7 separate regions of the Homo sapiens genome follow, and all the other regions are linked to region 7. Evidence: promoter capture Hi-C in 16 types of primary human blood cells and fetal thymus (Javierre and others, 2016). All regions are on one chromosome and are shown on one strand. The core of a region is centred on a gene start or on the middle of the fragment in contact, and the rest is flanking DNA. Distances in the headings are between cores, read along the strand shown.

Region 1 (2,700 bases), core at 35-2,534, 410 kb after region 7:
AATAATCAAGACTATGTGGTACTGACATAAAGATAGAGAGACATATAAGTCAACAGAATATAATTGAGAATCCAGAAATAAATCCATACATTTATGGTTAATTGATTTTAGACAAGGATGCCAAGACAGTTCAATGAGGGAAAGAACAGTCTTTTCAACAACTCTCGCTGGGACAGCTAGACACTGATATGCAAACAAAAATTAAAATGAATCAAAGATCTATATGTAAGAGCTAAAACTATAAACTTCTAGAGGACAACATAGGTGTAAATCTTCTTGACTTTGGCTTCGGCAATAATTACCTAGATGTAACACCTAAAGCACAAGCAACAAAAGAAAAAAAAATTGGATTTCTTCAAAATTAAAAGCTTTTATGCTTCCAAGTTTACCCTTAAGAAAGTGAAAAGATGGCCGGGCGCGGTGGCTCATGCCTGTAATCCCAGCACTTTGGGAGGCTGAGATAGGTGGCTCACGAGGTCAGAAGTTCGAGACCAGCCTGGCCAACATGGTGAAACCCCATCTCTACTAAAAATACAAAAATTAGCTGGGCGTGGTAAAAAAGAAAGTAAAAAGACAATCTTCAGAATGGGAGAAAATATTTACAAATCATATATCTGTTAAGGGACTTTATATTCAGAATATATAAAGAATTCTTACAACTCAACAATAAAAAGACAAACAGCTCAATTTAAAAATCAACAAAGTATTTGAATATTCTCCAAACAAAACATACAAATGACCAATAAACATACAAAAATATGTCTAACATCATTAGTTTTGCATCACTAGTGAAACACAAATCAAAACCTCAATGAGTTACCACTTCACATCCACTAAACTAGTTATAATAAAGAAACAGACAGTGACAAGTATTGTTGAGGATATGGAGAAACTGGGACCCTTTTACATTGCTGGTGGGAATGTAAAATGGTGCAGCTGCTTTGGAACACAGTTGGCAGTTCCTCAAAAAGTCAAACATAGATTTACCTTATGACCGAGCAATTCCACTCCTACATATATCAGAAAATTGAAAGCAAATGATTCATGCAAAAACCTGTGTGTGCATGTTCATACCAACATTATTCATAATACCTAAAAAGTGGAAGCAACTGCTGAAACGGTAAGTGCCATGTCCCATTCTACAGTCCACACAATGGCATATTTTGCAGCCACAAAAAGCAACGAAATGCTGATATATGCTACACCATGAATGAACCTTGAAAACATTATGCTAAGTGAAAAAAGACCACATATTATATGATCCCATTTGTCTGGAATGTTCAGAAAATGAAAATCCATAGAAAGAATATAGATTAGTTGTTGCCAGCAACTTGGGGTGGAAGGAGAAAGAATGGATAATGACTGCTGATGGATATGGGGTTTATCTTGGGTTGATGAAAAAGTTTTGAAATTAGATAGTGGTGATGTTTGTACAAAAGTGTGAATATACTAAAAGCCACTGAATTGTGCACTTTAAATAGGTGAATTTGATAATATTCAAATTATTTCTCAGAAAACAATCTATACATACACTCAACTGTGCCTCTATGAAGCAAATAGTTTCTGAAATAATTTTTTGAAGAGTAAAGGGCATGAGCTCTGGGCAGCCACAGCGCACCTCCTTTGACTTCCTCTAGGCTGTACTCTTGATAGCTGAGGTTGCTGTTAAGCTATCTGAGCAAGGAGTAGTGAATATCTTATGAGAATAATGTTGGTTACCACACACAGCCTAGTGACCTGGCTCAGACATAGTGACAATAAATGCTTCCCCAAATCTAAATTTCCAAGACCACAGCCAGCCACTGCAAGTTTTGGCAAAACCTATCATGAAAGCCTATCAAAGGGAAAATGGGGTTTGTGATTGATCAAATTTCTTTTAAAGTATCTGAAATTCGTAGTTTTGAAGTAAGCAACTTTATGAGGGCTCTTAGCCTTTAGAGAGATGTTCCAATGCCACAAAAACATCCTACAGTAAGAGACAGCAGACTACTAATGCTCTATGAGGCTGAGGCGATTGGAGAAAATGAGCTTGAAGTCCTTCCAGAATATTGAGCATTTATCATAGTATTACCACTATTTAATTTCATAGGAAAAAAAATCCAAGGAACAATCCCTTTGTACCTTGACAGGTCCCTAGAAGAAACTTCTGTTACCACATTCAGACAATATCTACTTAGTGAATAAACAAACCACTTGGTTCCAAAGCTTGTCCATATGACACATTTCACAATTGCTATATTTAATTCAAATTATTTGGAGTTAAAATACACTCCAGAGTGTTTATTTTTCTGTCTCTTTCCTAGAGGGTAAGAATAGTAAATGAGACAGCTGGTTGTATTCTCAGCTCTGGGGTTCTGGTAAGCATTTTATATGGCAGCAGGCAGGAGCCGGGGGTGTGTGGTTGGAGACAGTTTTTCAAAATGAAATGGTCTGTCCTCCCCCACAGCTCCCTGCCCTCTGCCACTGCAGGATTACAGTAATTCTGTATCCCAAGACTAGTTACTTTTAAAATGCCACAGCAAAGTATCCCCAAAGGTTATGGTTCCCATTTGTTCATGTCACTTAATAGCTAAAAAACCTTGGGCAAATTCCTGAACCTAGCTTACAAGGTTCCTCTGTAGAATGGGGTTAATAATAGGACCTTCTAGCCAGGCACAGTGGCTCACACCTGTAATCCCAGCACTTTGGGAGGCCCAGACG
Region 2 (2,719 bases), core at 89-2,588, 340 kb after region 7:
GCTGCTCTGGAAAAGTCTGGCAGTTCCTCAAGAGGTTGACACAGAGTTGCCATACGATGCAGCAATCCCACTCCTAGGTATATATCCAAGAGAATTGAAAATATATGCCCACCCTTGTACCTGAATGTTCACAGCAGCAGCATTCGTCTCAGCCAAAAAGTGGAAACAACCCAAGTGTCCATCCACAGATGGACAGATAAGTAAAATACACAAATAAGTAAAATACTGTCTATTTAAGCAGTGGAATATCATTTGGCAATAAAAAGGAATGAAATACTAACAGTTGCTACAACATAGATGAACCTTGAAAGCATTATGCTAAGTGAAAGAAGGCAATCACAAAAGACCACATATCACATGATTCCATTTATATGAAATGTCCAGAAAAGGCAGATGGATAGAGGCAGAAAGTAGATTTGTGATTGCCAGAAAATGGAGAAAGGGTGAATGGGTAGTGACTGCTAATGGGCAGAGGATTTATTTTGGGAGTGATGAAAATGTTCTGAAATTAGACAGTGGTGATGGCTGCACAACTCTGTGAATATACTAAAAAACCATTTTTTTATACATTTTCAAGGGGTGAATTTTATGATATATGAACTATACCTCAATAAAGCTGTTGTTAAAGTGAAAAAGTCAGAACTCCTTCTCTTATATCCTCACAGTAATCAGCTTGGTGTTTGACACTAATGAGGAGAATTAAGCTGAACTGCCCATGGTGAGGGTGCTTAGAGGCAGGTTCCTTGAGTGAAAGAGGCAGAAATGGCCCATTCCAGAGACAGAATTAGGCTTCCTGAGACAGAGAAGACAGTGGTGGCAGATGACACCTAGTGGCAGGAAACTATTCCCTGCTATAAGAACATCCAAGGGATGACAACACTGTGGCCTTAGGTACCTGCAAAAGATTCCTGTGGTTGGCACGCAGAAATCCTGCCTTTTAAGGGACCCTGTGGGCTTGGACAGAGGGCATCTTGGTGATAATCATAATGAACTGAATACCGAAGAGCCACTCTCATGTTTTCTAGCTCAAGTGTGCCCTCAGGATTCTTGTATATCTCACAAAGAGGAGTTGCTCCCAGAGGGCTCAGCCTTCTCCCTGCTGACAAAGCCCCCACTTTGGCTCTTGTTCCAGCTGTTGGCCCTTTGAGACTCAACTGCATATTCTTGCCAGGCTCTGGTTTCTGTCTGTTTCCCCGAACTCTGGTGCAGGGTCCCCCCATTCCCTACTATGGCAGCCCATCGGTACACACTTGTTTGCCACTTGTGGCTGTCTTCCCTTCCTCCAGGATGGCAGGGGAGCTCAGGGAGCAGGCTGAGGGAGCAGGGAGGCCTCCTGTTTCTCCACTTCAACTCTATACTGGCTGCCAGTGGGACCCGCTGTGGGCAGGGGGATTTCTTCCCAGAGTCCAGGCTAAGTCCCTTCTGCCTTCAGCCCATCTGAGCCATTTTCATCATCTTCTTTGGCTAACTTCTAGGGGACCCAAACAACATTTTCACCTTAGTATCAGCCCCTCCAAATCTTCCTTCCTTCACCCAGGACTGGAAATGCTCTCTACCTCCTCCATCTGTCCAGCAAGAACTTCCCTCAAATCACCCCTCTGCCTCCTCTAGTTTAGTCTTGTGGCACAGTCTTAATGGTGAAAAGCCTGTCGAGGACAAATCTGAATTATCAGAAAGAGAAAATGCACTGGGAAGTACTTCAAAAATGAATTCTTTTACTAACCAATGCAGATTAAAATTGACAGCTGACAGTTACCTGGTTACCCTGTGCTAGGGAAAATTCTAAGCACTTTGCATGTGTTAATTTATTTGATTCTCTCAACAGCCTGCAACTATTATTTCCCTTATTTTAAAGGTGCAGAAACTGAAGCCATCTAAAGAAGTCAAACAGAGGGTAAATGTTGAATTTGGGATTCAAAGTTAGATAGTCTGGCCCCAAAGTCTATATTTTTAGCAGTAGGCTAAACTGTCTCTCCATACCAGACAAATCAAATCAGAATATTTGGTTATGGGGCCTGGGCATCAATATTTTTTAAAAATCTTCAGATTTTTCTAACATGCAGTCAGGGTTAAGAGCCTGGCTGATGTCTGTTGGGTTTTCATTCAACAAACCTTTATTGAATGCCTTTCTAGGTAGTAAGCCCATGTTAAACCCCAAAGATACACATACAAACATGTTTGGTTCCAGCCCTAACAGAGCTCATTGAGGGCAAAATAAGGAAGTTGCTGTATTGTTGGATGATGGACTCAGCTAGCTGCTTAGAATGTAGTTGTGCTTCTTCACAAAATAGCTGATTCTAGGTTTGGAGCACAGAAATTGCAAGGTAAGGTTCAGATATCCTGTTACACCAGAAAGCAGGTACATTGTCAAAGACTTAAGGGAGTCATGAAAAGACAGAGAAACCAGCCTGAAAGGGCAGTCACTGGCCAGATTCAAAATAATTCAAACATCAAAAATCGTAATTGACTATAATTGACTGAAACACATTGAATCAAAAGCCAGGTAATAAATGTAGAAGTCATGATAGAAGGATAGCCAAGATCCTAATTTGTATAATAGTTGGTTCAGTCAGAAATCATCAATGGATGCTAAAAGCATCGGTTGAAAGGTTATAAAGAACAGGATAGTCACATGGCACTGAAGACATATTACCTGATAAATCACAGACTAATTACAACATGAAAAAATATGTACTTTTACAATGGAGAAATTGGATAG
Region 3 (2,753 bases), core at 70-2,569, 290 kb after region 7:
TTCTGTCTTACAAGAGGATTGTAAAATGCACCAATCAGCACTCTGCAGCTAGGATTGTAAAACGCACCAATCAGCGCTCTGTGGCTAGCTAGAGGTTTCTAAAATGGGCCAATCAGCACTCTGTAAAAACACACCAATCAGCTCTCTGTGGCTAGCTAGAGGTTTGTAAAATGGACCAATCAGCACTCTGTAAAATGGACCAATCAGCACACTGTAAAATGGACCAATCAGCACTTGGTAAAATGGACCAATCAGCAGGACATGGGCAGGGACAAATAAGGGAATAAAAGCTGGCCACCCAGTCAACACAGGGAACCCAGTCAGGTCCATTTCTAGGTTGTGGAAGCATTGTTCTTTTGCTCTTCACAATAAATTTTGCTGCTCCTCACTGTTTGGGTCCATGTGACCTTTAAAGCTTTCTTTAACATTTAAGGTCCGTGGCTTCATTCTTGAAGTTAGCGAGATGGAGACCACAAGCCCACTGAAAGGAACCAACTGCAGACACAATGCATGTGAGAAAGACTCAGCCCTATTTTCTGGCTTTGAAGCTGGAGGAAGGAGCCAGGAGCAAAAGAATGAAGACAGTTTCCAGAAGCTGCAAAAGGGCAGGGACAGATTCACTCCAGGAAGCCCCAGAAACAAACACAGTCCTGCTGACACCTTGATTTCAATCCAGTGAGACATATTTTGGACTTCTGACCTACAGAGCTAAAATAATAGTAAGATAATAAAGTTATGTTGCCACCACTGAAAACAGTTTTATTTTGCTTTGGTTTAAGCTAACTGAGCTAATACAGCTGCCGTATTTTATGACACTTGCCTAAGGAAGACTTCCCATCCCTGCACTGCTCCCGGCTAACCAGTCCTTTCTCGGGACTCCTGGAAACCTCCCACTCTCAGAGAGGTGTAGGGTATAAAAATCACAAGCTGATGGCTCAGGATGTAGCAAATAAAAATACAAGACCAAAACGAAACCCAACCGGAACACCGAGTTAAACGTGAATTGACCATGCGATATTTGGGACATACTTAACACTAAAAATTACTGGTTGTGTATCTGAAATTTACCTTTAACTGGGCTCATGTATTTTACCGGGCAACCCTACCCCCCGGTCACAGTGAGACTACACACGGGGTCTTTTGGTCATTTTGCAAGTGTAAAAGACTAACGGGAACACCGGCATTTTTCAAAGCTCGATTTCCAAACCTCCTTTAAACACTTGTCCCCATCCCCTCCCCGCAGGCCTTCAGTCGCTCTGGCACGCGGGCCAGCGCGGGAACACTCTGCGCAGGCGCACAGCGTTCCGCGGGGGACGCTCAGTAGGGTACGGGACGCGCGCGGGGAGACCCTGTGCAGCGACACCGGGGCTGTAGTCGCCGTCTGGAACCAGCGCGGGAATAGGTGCGCAGGCGCACAGTGGCTGGAGGGCAGCGGCGGCGTGGTCTCGGGCCACTTCCAAGCAGAGGGCAGCACCTGTCCCCTCGGAGGCGCTGCCAGCGCCCTCCCTCCTCCTCCGCAGGGCGCGGGACCTCTATTTATATCGCCCAGCCAGCACAGGCCCATATTGGGCAGTGGCCTCAGTCAGGCCCGCTGGCCGCCCTGCCACACGGTAGCGTCCAAGCCAGGTCGTGGCCCAGCGAGTGGGGACGCGCCCCGAACCAGGCAGCACCTTCGTAAGTAGGGGTAGCGCCCCGGGGGAACGCGGCCCCCAGTCACAAGCCCTGCCTCAACTCCGGGCCAGGTTGAACCTGGGCGCCGACCCGGGGCCACCGGCACTTGCAGCCTCGGCTCTAAGTGACTTCCTTCGAGTCGCAGTGGGCCGGCGCCTGGCGTCAGGTGGGGCTCCCAGGAGCTGCTCCTCCAGGCCATCTCTGCCGTCTCCGACCTTCACCGTCGGGTTGTTCAGGCTCGTAGTCTGCATAGTATTATCATCCTCCGAATTACCTGACCAATGTATTATTGTGCCTTCCGTCGCTAGACTGTAAGCACAACAAAGGTAAGGGGCACTTCCCTGTTCCTGGTTGTCTTCCCGGAACCTAGGATAGTGCCTGGCACTTAGAAGGGTTCGTTTAAGTTTAATAAACCCTGAATGTATCCCTGAGCAACTCTCTTAACTTTAAAGCCAGGAGAATAATTGCCCTACATTTTCCCCCAAATGATTCTTAAGAGGAACTAATGAGCTATAATGCGGATTAAAGCACTTTGAAAAGTATAAAGCACTGTGAGAATGCAAAACAGTGTGAACTCGGCAAAGAAAAGAAAAGAAAACTGGTCTTATTTGTCTTTATCATCCATGTGCCTGGCTGTTACTGGATGCCCGGTGTGTGGGATGGATTATTATGAAATGAATCAGGTCTTTTTCCATGCTAGTGAGAAGCACAGAGTACATTTAGGGTGGTGCGTGTGTTCTCAGCCATTTCCTACCAGCCTCTGCAAGCGTAGGATTTTAGCAAGATGGTGTTGCTGAAACAAAATAGGGTGTGGAGACGTAATCGTATAAACTGGGGGTCACAAACTTAAATGGCTGTAGGATAATGTAAATGGACAGGAAAGAGAAAAGCAACAGCGTAAGAATTACAAATAATGACTGTCCCTCAGGTCTCAAAGAGGATAATGGGGCCCAGCAGATGTGCCAGCTGAGAGGTGGCAGCTGGGTACTCAGGTCCTGCACATTGTTGCCGCTTGGGAATTAAGGACTCAGTGTTGCCATACCTTTCATTTTTTTCAGTAGATGCTGGAATATTTCAGCTTA
Region 4 (2,700 bases), core at 62-2,561, 430 kb after region 7:
GCAGAAGACAAAAATCCCCCCATTCCACAGAAAAATAATGTCAGTTTTAGGTTTATCTCTTCTGGTGTTTGGGTCCATCTGCAAAGTTTTAAAAACACAAATAGGCTTGTAATTATGATGATACCTAACTTGCACTTTTCATATAAAAATATCTCCTGGACGTTTGGCACGTCAGAATACACAATCCTGCCTCACTTTTCTTAGCACAGTATAAGCTTATATTGCAACGATAAAGCAACGTTAAGTCATTTCCAGGTTTTTTTATCGTTAACATTGAAACCATGACTGTCCTCATATGTTCATCTTTGTATATTTTGGCAGCTGCTCTCAGTGAATAAGTTTCTAAAAATGAAATTCCTAAACCAAAGCACTTGGTCATGCAAGGGGCAGCTTTCTGAAAAAGGCCTGAACTTGGAGCTTAGCACCTGCGTTCAAATCCTGGCTGTTCCTGTTAGTCATACATACGTGGCTTTGGGCAGATTCCTGCACCACTGAATCTTGGTTACCAGGATGCAGTGAGAAGCAACATGAAATTACATGATGCCTGGCTCCTGGTAGATGTGTATCAAACATTGGCATGCTGTGCTACATCCACCAAGTGCCGTGGAAATCTTGTAACAGCATGTTTTTAATAAAAAGTTCAAAACATACAAGGGAAGCCTTAGAGAGTGTGACTTATTAGGGAAAGGAAATAAACATTTTTTGGCACTAAATATCTTCTTCACTGAGGAGCATTCCAGGAGAAATAATCATGCATATTTGAGAGTTTTCTTTTAATTGAATGTTGGAAACAGAGTCCTTGGCCTCCAGAGACCATATTATCTCATTAATGAGATGGAAAACTGGTCCCCAAACAAGTGAAGGCTGCATGTGCCTAACAGGTTACAAAGGAGAGTGGAGCTTGAGATAGGGAGCCATAGAGAAGAGTGGGCAAGATCACATTTGATGCTTCCTTGAGTACTTTGTATAAATTTAGGAAATCCAAGGTAAATTGGGAGAAGCAGGTCCAGAAGGCAAAGTTTGACAGGATGTGAAAAGGCAAGAGGGGGATGGCATTGTAGGAGTTCAGGTATTTGTCAAGACCATCATGGTGACTGGCTTTTGGGGAGTGCCTGAGTGGGAAGGAAGTAAAGTCAGAGGGGAGCCCCTGGTGGCTTAGCAGCCCAGTAGTAGCCGCCAGAGGCTCATGTTCCATTCTGCAGCAGGGCATTGAGTAATGGGAGCCAGAGTTTGGAAGAAGTGATTTGCTCTGCACTGAAAGGCAGAGAGAGCAGCTAGGTGCGTGCAGCAGTAATCCAGCCCCAATTAAGCCATCCTACAGGAGAGCACTGTGTGAGGGCATTTGGAGGAAGCAAGTTGAGAGAGGGGACCAGAGAGGCACTTTCAAGGTGGGGGAAAACTAAGAAGCAAAGGTGGATTTGTCTGGCCTTGAAGTCAGTGTGTCTACATGTCAGTTGCTCGTGTTTGGGACCTGGCTGACACGAGATGCATTCAGGAAGGGCTGTGCCCCATGGCCTGCATGTGGGCAGTGAGTGGTGCTAGAGGGAGAGCCTAGGGAGGGGCAGGGAGAGCCACACAGAGGGCACAGCTGGGACGGCAGCTTTGCAGCTGTGCCTGGAGATGTTGCAGCTTGGCTTGGGACAGGGGAGGCTGTTGAATGAGATTCTACAGGCAGAGACAGTAATCACTGCTGCTTCCCTGGGCAGCAGGAACAATGCAGAACTGGGAATTAGTCCCAAATTTGAAACCGTGGGGAAACAGGCCAGCCTTGTCACACAGGACCAAAAGGTGGAAAGGATGGGAATTGACGAAAGACCGCCACAGGGTGAGATGAGGACATGATGGCCAGTTAGGATATGGTGTCTCTTTCACAGAAGCCACAGCAGAGGAGGTCAGTGGTCATATTGGTTAGATGGTCTGCCTGACATGTCATCTCGGAATGGTCCAGGAAGATGTAGCAGGTGGTCCTAGCTATCACGTGTTAGAAACTTGGGAACAGTGCTTTTGAGTTCTTTAGTTTCACCTTTTCCTAGATTCACTTGCTTTTTAGTCATGGGAGGAGTAAAAGTGAAAGTTGGAAGATTTGTTCTATGAAAGGAAAATCAGGGAGCAGAACCTACTCCTGACAGCATCCAGAGACACAATCTGGAGATGTCACACCTGCAGCACCGAAACTCAATGTCAGGCACTTGGGGTCTGGATGGCTCCTGAGCTGAACTACAGATTTGGGCCACCTCTCTAGGCTCACCATCCAGATCTGGGTCCAGAGGACAGAATTATTACCTTTGGGTTAAAGTGATCCCTTCTCAAGTTTTTATTTAATGTGCTTTTAAAAGGCAAACCCCACATACCATCAGTTTGGTTACTCTTCCCATTCCCTCAGCTACCAAGTTATTTTGGTTGAATAGAAGCTTTCCTTTTTGTAGGGTGTCTTCATTTCTTACATCTCACTCTATTTCACTGTTAGGCACAAGGGAATGGACACATTTGACAAGTTCCACAGTACTAGATGGGTCCTCTAAGTACAGTCTGACCTTCAGTTTCAGCTTTCCTATTTAATCTGTCATGTAAAATTAATTGTACTCCAAAGTGGCCATCAAATACAGTCCCTATTTGACTTTTTGTTGTTGTTGAGACGGAGTCTTGCTCTGTCACCCAGGCTGGAGTGCATTGGCGCCATCTCGGCTCACTGCAACCTCC
Region 5 (2,700 bases), core at 110-2,609, 320 kb after region 7:
AAATAACTTTTTAAAATATCTCAGTCATTAAGAGCATCAAAAATTGTGCTTCTCTATATGTGAGTGATGTCCATTGGCCATTGAGTAATGTACTACTGTATTTGCTCCCTAAACTAGAAGGCCACAAATTACAGGGTTTCATGGGTTTTTTTCCTCTCCTTCCCACTGCTGTTGGTTACCATTTCTTTTCTTGTTGCTCTCTCCCTGTTATGTTACCAGATTGTACATACAAGATTATGCATCAATCATACATATAAATAGATTTTACATACAAGACTATATATGCAGGCAATTGTACATATGTTTAGATTACACATACAGTTAGGCCATTAGACCTTGTGTCATTAACAATGTCTCCAGTTTTTTCAGAATAAAATTCAAGGTCTTTTATCACAGCACCAATACTCAGACACTTGTTTTACATTGCTCAGGGTTTTCACTTGTGCTCTGGGCACTAGCAATCGTCTGACTTCCTGTTAAATGAGGAGTTACTGTAACAGGCAGCATCTAACCACCACAGGGAAAGATTTAGGCAAGCAGGATAATCGGAATCATTTGGTTAATGGCCCTTGCCTTTACCTTATTACATTTTTTATAAATTTTCTGAGTAAATCTCATGTGTACAAAGGTTTCCCAGGTGTATTCTTTAACAGAAATAAGCCACAGAAAGGAAAGGTCCTTCTGCAGACCAATCTTATCTCTGCAACTTAATAGCACCATGTGATTTTGAGCAAGTTGCTGAATTTTGCTAAATCTGTTTTCTTTATTCATAAAATAAGGATGATAATAATACATTATTAACTCATGCAGTTGTTGCAAAGCTTAAGAGAGTATTATGCCAAATGCTGAACACTGTGCTTGGCATATGAGAAGTGCTCAATAGATGAGAGTTATAACAATCATTATTGCTTATAGTAAGTGGCAAAGAGTCCACTGTGCTTTAGTGTCCTAATAATGTTCAGCCCGTCATCTTATTGTTAATGCCCTGCCAGGCCCAAATGAGGAGGCATACTGAGATGAGGTCATTCTGTCCTCATGCGTTGGGAGTCAAAGGACTGAGTCTTTCTACTTTCTTCATTTCCTCCTATTGTAAACATGCGCTAATGACATACTTACTGCACATTCACACAGCCTGCTTTTCTGTATGGAGCCAGGTACACATTTTCATGTAAGGAACTCTTTGAAAATATTGTCCAGAATGTACTCTTCTAATAGGAATTAAAGATGAAAACATTGTATTACCGGACATTGTGGCTAGCACTGACCCTGGAGGTTTGCTTTGAGTTGTAAAGATTTTAGAATATGGACTTCAGTTAAAACCTATGCTGAATTTTTCTCGTGTAAATGTTTGTCTTTAAAAAGTGTGTTGTCACAGATACCATGAATAATTTGAATTTAGATGAAAACAGCTTCTGGAATTATGGCAAACTAGCCAAGGGGCATATTAGTCATATACTGGATAGTTTTTCCTGGAAATCTATAAATTGCCTTCTTAACATAAAAATAAAGGAATAGATATGGCCAGATTGCTCAAGTGACTCCATTGCTCATGTGGTTACATGTGCATTTTGTCAGCTTTGCCACACTGTAATTGGCTCTTCTGTTGGATAACTTCCTAGAAAGCCTAAAATAATTTAGTCTATATAAGTCTTATGAGTCAATGATACCCTAAGTGGAAACACAGGTATTTAAAACCAGCCAGCTTTCCTTTTGACTTTTTTTTCCTGAGGCCCTTCTCAGGAACGTAACTATTTTTGTTAGGAAGTGCAGAAAGGAGTGGTCTGTTGTTTAATGACAGAACCACTGACATGCAGGAGGAGACCAAAGGGAAGGTGCCTTAGTTCTAAGGAAAAATCTTTTGTCATTTGTACAGTGAAAGCTCATTATAAGAGCTAGTTAAGCTTCTTTAATCTAAAATACATCCTAATTGCCTAAAAAGGTAGTCCAGAAATTTTAGGTTAATATATCTTATTGCTGTAGAAAATATTAATGCCTTGTTTTCAAGGTTTTAAATCCATTTTATGAATAATAAAGTAGAAAATGAATCAAATACAGACTCCTATTAGTAAAATTTGGGGGAAGGTAGAACATTCTGGGTTCAACCTCACTGAAATCTCATTATGAGTCCTTGGTGAATGCTTCTGTTATAAAATACTGATTTAAATATGGTACCAGGGGCTGTCTCTTAGAAAAGAAGTTTGCATGTAAGATAAACTGGAAAGCATTTTAGATCTCATACTATTAGTTATGCTCTTGAATAAATTATGCTTCCTTCTGAAATGAAAATGTGTATTCATGAATATGCTTTGGATTTCCATCAAGTGTTCTTAAAATGTCAAATTGCGTTCAAAAGTTGCTTCAGCTTGATGGGTCAGGCAAAATCAAATATAGAAAGTGAGGCCAGAATCTATTTATGGAGGCAGTAGACCTTTCACACGTGGCCCCAGCCTGCCCCTGCAGCCTCAGCTCCTCCTGCCACTCCTCCACCCCACAAAGCCTAGCGCCAGCCACAGGGACTGGGGGTCACTTCCTGAACATGCTTTCCTCCTGTGCCTTTGTTTACCCTGTTCCCTTTGCGTGTAGGGCCTAACTCAACATCCTCAAAATCTGGCAAAAATCCCATCTCCTTGTAGTGGTTTATGTAATCCTTTGGTCAGAACGAAGAGCATGCTGCTTTGCCAGTCGCTGCCCTTGTCACAC
Region 6 (2,700 bases), core at 58-2,557, 370 kb after region 7:
TGGCAGGTGCCTGTAGTCCCAGCTACTCAGGAGGCTGAGGCAGGAGAATGGCGTGAACCCGGGAGGCGGAGCTTGCAGTGAGCCGAGATCACGCCACTGCACTCCAGCCTGGGGGACAGAGCGAGAATCTGTCTCCAAAAAAAAAAAACTAATAATAAAATAAGAAGCTATTAGACATATGCTCAATATGCTCAAGAATTTAAAGAAAAAAACATGAACATAATGAGGAGAAATATGGAAAATATAACCAAGAACCTAATGGAATTTCTACAGGTGAAATATACAATACCTGCAATGAGAAACGTATTGACTGAGATTAACAGCATATCACACACTGACAAAGGAAAGATCAATGAACCTGAAAACAATGCAACAGAAACTGAACTGAAGCACTGGGAGAAAAATGCTGAAATAAAATGAACAGAACTGGAAATGTTACCTGTGAGATACTATCAAACAATACATGTATCATTAGGGTACCAGGAAGGAGACAAGAAAAACATTGGAAGACAATCTTCTAAATTTGATGAAAATCATAGATGCAGAGTTCCAGGGAGCTCAAGGACCCCCGCCTGAGAAGCAGGAAGCTTTGTCCCTCAGCATCCCCTCCTGGAAGGACTTGCCCAGAGGCTGTGGGGAGCGCAGGCTGCAGAACGCCCTCAGCCACCAGCTCCTCCCCATCCCTCACCTGCAGAGAGAGCCACTGGCTAAAGGCCACACCTTCCCAGACAGCCCAGGTGACTGAGCAGGCAGGGAATGTGAAGATCTGGCCATTTCAGCTCAGCACAGAACATGCTGATGGAAGGCCTTGCTCTGGAGTCCCCAACAGGTGGGCAGAGGTGGGCAGGCCTGACCGAGGTTGAACTCCACTGCCAAGCCTGCTTCTGCCTCCTCCTGTCACAAGTGTGAAACACCTGGTGCCCCAGACTCCACTCCTTCATCTGCTTCCAGGGAAGCCAGCCTGAGACAACTAGCAAAGGCACATCCTAATGAAATGGCTGAGAATGCGAGGTAAAGGGAAACAGAAGCAAGAATGGCCACGTCCTCAAAAACTCTGCAGACAAGGAGACAATGAAACAGCATCTGCAAGAAAAAGCCGGGGATCTACAAATCTATATCCTGCAACCAAAGAAGACAAAATAGAGACTTTTCCAAACAAACCAAAGCTAGAGATTTTGCCAGCGGCAGACCTGCAATACGGGAAATGTTGACAGGAGTTCTTCACACCAAAGGCGAATGATATCGGATGAAAAGCCTGGAACTACAGGAGAGAATGAAGAGTTTGGGAAATGGAAAATGCATCACTCATATGAAAACCCTTTTCTCATTTTGAATCTCTTTGGAACATAATTGGCTCTGGAAGGTAAAACTGTTAACAATTTGTTGTTGAAGGCCAGGTGCGGTGGCTCACGCCTGTAATCCCAACACTTTGGGAGGCTGAGGCGGGCAGATCACAAGGTCAGGAGTTCGAGACCAGCCTGACCAACATAATAAAACCCCATCTCTACTAAAAATACAAAAATTAGCCGGGCGTGGTGGCACGTGCTTGTAATCCCAGCTACTCGGGAGGCTGAGGCAGGAGAATCACTTCAACGCGGGAGGCAGAGGTTGCAGTGAACCAAGATCGCGCCACTGCACTCCAGCCTGGGCGACAGAGTGAGACTCCGTCTCAAAAAAGAGCAGGATGGCAGGTATAAATACAGACATAAGGATACCTGCATTCAGTATAAATAATCGAGGGACTTGGAAAATCAGATATCAGACTGGACAAAAAAAGTGAGACTTACCTGTATGCTCTCTACCAGAAACTTACTTTAAATATAAAGACACAAATAAACTATAAAAAGATAGAAAAGATATATCATGCAAGCACTAGTCATTTTTTCAAAAGCCGGAGTGCCTATATTCTTGTCGGACAAAGTAGACTTCAGGGCAAACATTACCAGGGATAGAGATGTTTCTTAATGATAAAGGTGTGAATTTATCACAAAGACATCATAATCCTAAATGTGCATCTGCCTAATCACAAAGCTTCAAAACGCATGAAACAAAAACTGACAAACCCACAATTCTCATGTGTGATTCTCACGCAGAATTGAAAGGAAAAACAGACAAATCCACAATTCTCATGCATGATTCCCACACTCCTCTTCCAATAAGGACACAGAAGACTCGAACACGGTCAGCCAATTTAACCATCTCACGCTTAACAATGGCAGAATGTCCATTCTCAGCGCACATAGAGCCATCATCGAAATAAACCATATGCTGGACCACAAAACAAGTTTCATAAATGTTAAACGCTAAAAACAGGCAGAGTATGTTCTCTAACTAAAATATAGTTTAAAAAGAAATCAGTAACAATTAGATATCATTTAAATCCCTCACAATTGGAAATTGAACAAAGCACTTTTAATTACCCATGGGTCAAAGAAGAGATCATAAGAGAAATTAGAAATATTTTTAACTCTGTAAAAATAAAAACGTAGCCTATCAAATTTATGAGAAGCAGCTAAATCAGTTTTTATAGTGAACTTTACAACTTTAAATGCTTACATCATGGCAGGGTGCGGTGGCTCACACCTGTAATCCCAGCACTTTGAGAGATCGAGGTGGTTGGATCACTTGAGTCCAGGAGTTCGAGACCAGCCTGGCCAACATGGTGAAACCCCTTCTCCACTAAAAATACAAAAATTAGCC
Region 7 (2,700 bases), core at 173-2,672:
CAAAAAACCAAAGGGATGCTCCTTTCATCCTCAGAGGAGGAAAGAAGAGGGAAGCTGGGTCTAGACACACCCTGGATTTCTCTTTTCCAAGCCCAGCTGACAGCCACTTTTCTAGTACCCCTAACACCCACCAAATAAAAGGTGCTACATTTTGCTCATGTTCTTTCTTTTGTCTGGAACCCATTTCTTCCCTATGCTCCTCCACCCCAACTCCTATTTCTCCTAAGTATTAATATTTAGTCTGGAAGAGTCCCGTGAGATTATCTCCAATGTCTGATGCTATACCCCTGCATAGGGGGGTGGGGATATACTTTGAAAAAGCATATTCAAATAACGATTTGTTATTTTAAAGAAGTGTTTTCCTAATATGGTATATATAAAGTAACATTCCACAAAATTGTGGTTGCTGTATATTTAAGCTGCAGTACTTCTAAAAGGGTAGTCGGGGTTTTTCTCTCCCTAAAAGAGGCTGAGCTTCTTTCTAACTCAGGAACTCTATCAGTGAGCTTTTCCCTCTGCCTTGTAAGTTCTCTCCCAAACCCAATCTCCTACCTAATACCCACTCATCCTTCCAGATGCCAGCCAGCTTACCTTAAATGCTGTTTCTTCAGGAAGGCAAGCATAAGGTTCCCCTCTGTGCTGTCTCCTAGCCCCTTATACTCCTTAACAGACCGACTACCAATTGCAATCATAGGACCATATGTGTGTCCATTTTGTTTTTCAGTCTGTTTTCTCTACGAGCCTAAACTATGAGGACGAGGGATGTGCCTGTTTTATTTACCACTACAGTGCTTGGCATATTAAGGATCTTCAGTTGCCAAAAGGGAGCACATGTTAGAGAAGTCAGCACCTCTCTCATAATCTAAAACCCCCCAGTTAGCAAATGGGGCAAGTGGGGCCCAGAGGTGAGAAGAGATTTACTCAAGGTCTCGGAACCAATCTGATCCTGAGCCAGACTGCCTAGCTCTAAAGTCCAGTTCTTTGCTCTCAGGTTCTCCTTCAGGGCTCACCCAATCTAAGTACCCTGAGAAGTCTTTCCTTACCCCAGGCCTCTGTCCACCCTCACAGTCATTTCCACGCGTCGTCCTCGTCCCATCAGTCCCATCTGCCACAGCTGCCCACTCTGCTTCCCAGGGAACGGGTGACCGCGCGGGGAGAGAGCGGCATCCGGGCGCGAGGTGCGAGGCCCAGGTCTGCGGGCGGCCGGGCCAAGCCCCCGAGCCTCGGCGGTGCTGATTGGCCGGCCTGGCGGGGGGGACGGGCGGAGGGACGGCCGCCCGCGCGTCCGCTTCGTCTCCGCGGGGGCGCGCCCGCGGCACGCGGCCGGGCGGGGCCGGGCGTGAGTGACGGCCATGCGGACCAATGGGGCGGGCGCGCGCCGCCGCCGCCGCCCGCGCGGCCCCTGACGCGGGCCCGGGCGCCGCGCCGCTGCGGCTGCAGGCGGCGACGGCTACACCATGGGCCGGCTGCTGCGGGCCGCCCGGCTGCCGCCGCTGCTTTCGCCGCTGCTGCTTCTGCTGGTTGGGGGTGAGTGCGCTCCGGGCCCGAGCGCGGGAGGGCGGGCGGCGGCGTGGGCGCGGTGCTGGACAGCTCCCCGGGCCGCCAACAAAGGGGCCAGAGTGCGGCGCCGCCGGGAGCGCGCGTGTCCCGGCCGGGCCGCGGCGCCGCCCCGACACACGCGCACGAGGAGTGGGTGCGTGGGGGCCGCGGCGGGCGCCTGGCGTGCCGGGCGACCCCCGACAAAGGCGCGGCGGTGAAGCTGGGACACAGCACCGTGGCCCCCACGCCGCGGCTCTCAGGGGCAGGTGCGCAGGCTGCTGCCTCGCGGGCCGGGGGGGCGCGCACGTGTGGGTGTGCATGTGTGTGCGTGTGCTTGTGTGTGTGCGAGTGCATTGTGTGCCTGCGCACTCGGGGGAAGAGGCGTGTGTGACAGCCACGCGGGGAGGAGGCCGCATTGTGAAGGTCCCAGGGGCCGCCTGCGGAGTGTGGGGCGGGTACGCTGAGGCGCGGGTGGCTGTTTACGCGTGGCGTTGCCGGGAGGGAGTGTGAGTGTGTCACGGTGAATGGGTATTCTCTCCTGTTCTGGGCGACTCTATTAGGAGCTGACAAAAACGGGCGTACAGCCACGGAAGGCCCGTGACAGCACACGGCGGGAGGCTCCCACGCAGCTCACACACGAGGGAGGTGTGAGACTCAGATGTGTGGTTTCCATTCAGCAGCCACGCCGGGCGGCGGGCTGTGTGGGTGCGTGGCGGGCTGGGGGTGTGGCACAGGTGTGAAAGGGATGTGTCTGCCTGAGAGAGAAAGAGACGGGCCTCCTGATGGCTTCCAGCGCAGACGGGGATTTAGTGGAGGGGGTGTGTAGGGAGGTGGGCATGGGGTGTGACAGCCCATGAGGCAGGCGGCCACTATGGAAATGGCGGGGAGAAGGGCTGTCTGCAAAGGTGGGTCAAATAAGGTCATAGCTGAGCAGCTCCTGCACACACTGGCAGAGCAGAGGGAGTGTGTTACGGTGTATGTTAAGGTGTGACTGGTGCTGCTGGAGGAATACCCGGATGAGGAAGTGTGCATGTGTGCCTGTGCACACTCATCAGCCAGCTGTAACTTCACTTCTGATGCACACGTCAAAATAGCGTCCTAGTATGATGTGTGTATGTGCATGTAGGAGTGTGTATGTGCATGTAGGAGTGTGCACAGGAC

Evidence for each region. The method cuts DNA at HindIII sites, captures the fragments that hold promoters and counts their contacts. A CHiCAGO score of 5 or more calls a contact.
Region 1: a fragment that was not itself captured here is called in contact with the fragment with the promoter of PODXL2 in region 7 in 1 of 17 cell types (erythroblasts); the score reaches 5.3 in erythroblasts.
Region 2: a contact is called between a fragment that was not itself captured here and the fragment with the promoter of PODXL2 in region 7, in 9 of 17 cell types (M2 macrophages, megakaryocytes, erythroblasts and 6 more). The highest score is 12.9, in M2 macrophages.
Region 3: the fragment with the promoter of KBTBD12 here is called in contact with the fragment with the promoter of PODXL2 in region 7 in 4 of 17 cell types (M2 macrophages, M1 macrophages, endothelial precursors and 1 more); the score reaches 8.0 in M2 macrophages.
Region 4: a fragment that was not itself captured here is called in contact with the fragment with the promoter of PODXL2 in region 7 in 2 of 17 cell types (megakaryocytes and erythroblasts); the score reaches 6.4 in megakaryocytes.
Region 5: a fragment that was not itself captured here is called in contact with the fragment with the promoter of PODXL2 in region 7 in 5 of 17 cell types (endothelial precursors, M1 macrophages, M2 macrophages and 2 more); the score reaches 7.2 in endothelial precursors.
Region 6: a contact is called between a fragment that was not itself captured here and the fragment with the promoter of PODXL2 in region 7, in 1 of 17 cell types (M1 macrophages). The highest score is 5.4, in M1 macrophages.

The regions. Positions count from the first base shown.
Region 1 is chr3:128,039,208-128,041,907 of GRCh38, forward strand. The region is part of intron 2 of LOC102723759 (a long non-coding RNA gene); the gene reads right to left. Among named protein-coding and RNA genes, the nearest start is that of SEC61A1, 12 kb to the right of the region's middle. The HindIII fragment of the contact is 1,837 bases long and covers 367-2,203 here.
Region 2 is chr3:127,970,345-127,973,063 of GRCh38, forward strand. All of the region lies in intron 5 of KBTBD12 (kelch repeat and BTB domain containing 12), which reads left to right. Among named protein-coding and RNA genes, the nearest start is that of KBTBD12, 56 kb to the left of the region's middle. The HindIII fragment of the contact is 4,244 bases long and covers 1-2,719 here.
Region 3 is chr3:127,913,913-127,916,665 of GRCh38, forward strand. It overlaps KBTBD12 (kelch repeat and BTB domain containing 12), which reads left to right and starts at 1,320. Exons shown (of 6, transcript NM_207335.4): 1 at 1,320-1,674. The region is part of intron 3 of LOC107986129 (a long non-coding RNA gene); the gene reads right to left. LOC124909427 (a long non-coding RNA gene) reads left to right here. Exons shown (of 2, transcript XR_007096071.1): 2 at 434-754. The HindIII fragment of the contact is 5,822 bases long and covers 414-2,753 here.
Region 4 is chr3:128,060,724-128,063,423 of GRCh38, forward strand. All of the region lies in intron 7 of SEC61A1 (SEC61 translocon subunit alpha 1), which reads left to right. Among named protein-coding and RNA genes, the nearest start is that of SEC61A1, 9.6 kb to the left of the region's middle. The HindIII fragment of the contact is 2,196 bases long and covers 214-2,409 here.
Region 5 is chr3:127,952,274-127,954,973 of GRCh38, forward strand. The region is part of intron 4 of KBTBD12 (kelch repeat and BTB domain containing 12); the gene reads left to right. Among named protein-coding and RNA genes, the nearest start is that of KBTBD12, 38 kb to the left of the region's middle. The HindIII fragment of the contact is 1,080 bases long and covers 820-1,899 here.
Region 6 is chr3:128,000,999-128,003,698 of GRCh38, forward strand. No RefSeq gene overlaps it. Among named protein-coding and RNA genes, the nearest start is that of SEC61A1, 50 kb to the right of the region's middle. The HindIII fragment of the contact is 1,444 bases long and covers 586-2,029 here.
Region 7 is chr3:127,627,763-127,630,462 of GRCh38, forward strand. It overlaps PODXL2 (podocalyxin like 2), which reads left to right and starts at 1,423. Exons shown (of 8, transcript NM_015720.4): 1 at 1,423-1,527. The coding sequence starts at 1,458. It overlaps LOC107986126 (a long non-coding RNA gene), which reads right to left and starts at 1,201. Exons shown (of 2, transcript XR_001740892.2): 1 at 1,044-1,201. RefSeq lists silencers at 1,356-1,425, 1,536-1,665 and an enhancer at 2,066-2,125. The HindIII fragment of the contact is 9,170 bases long and covers 1-2,700 here.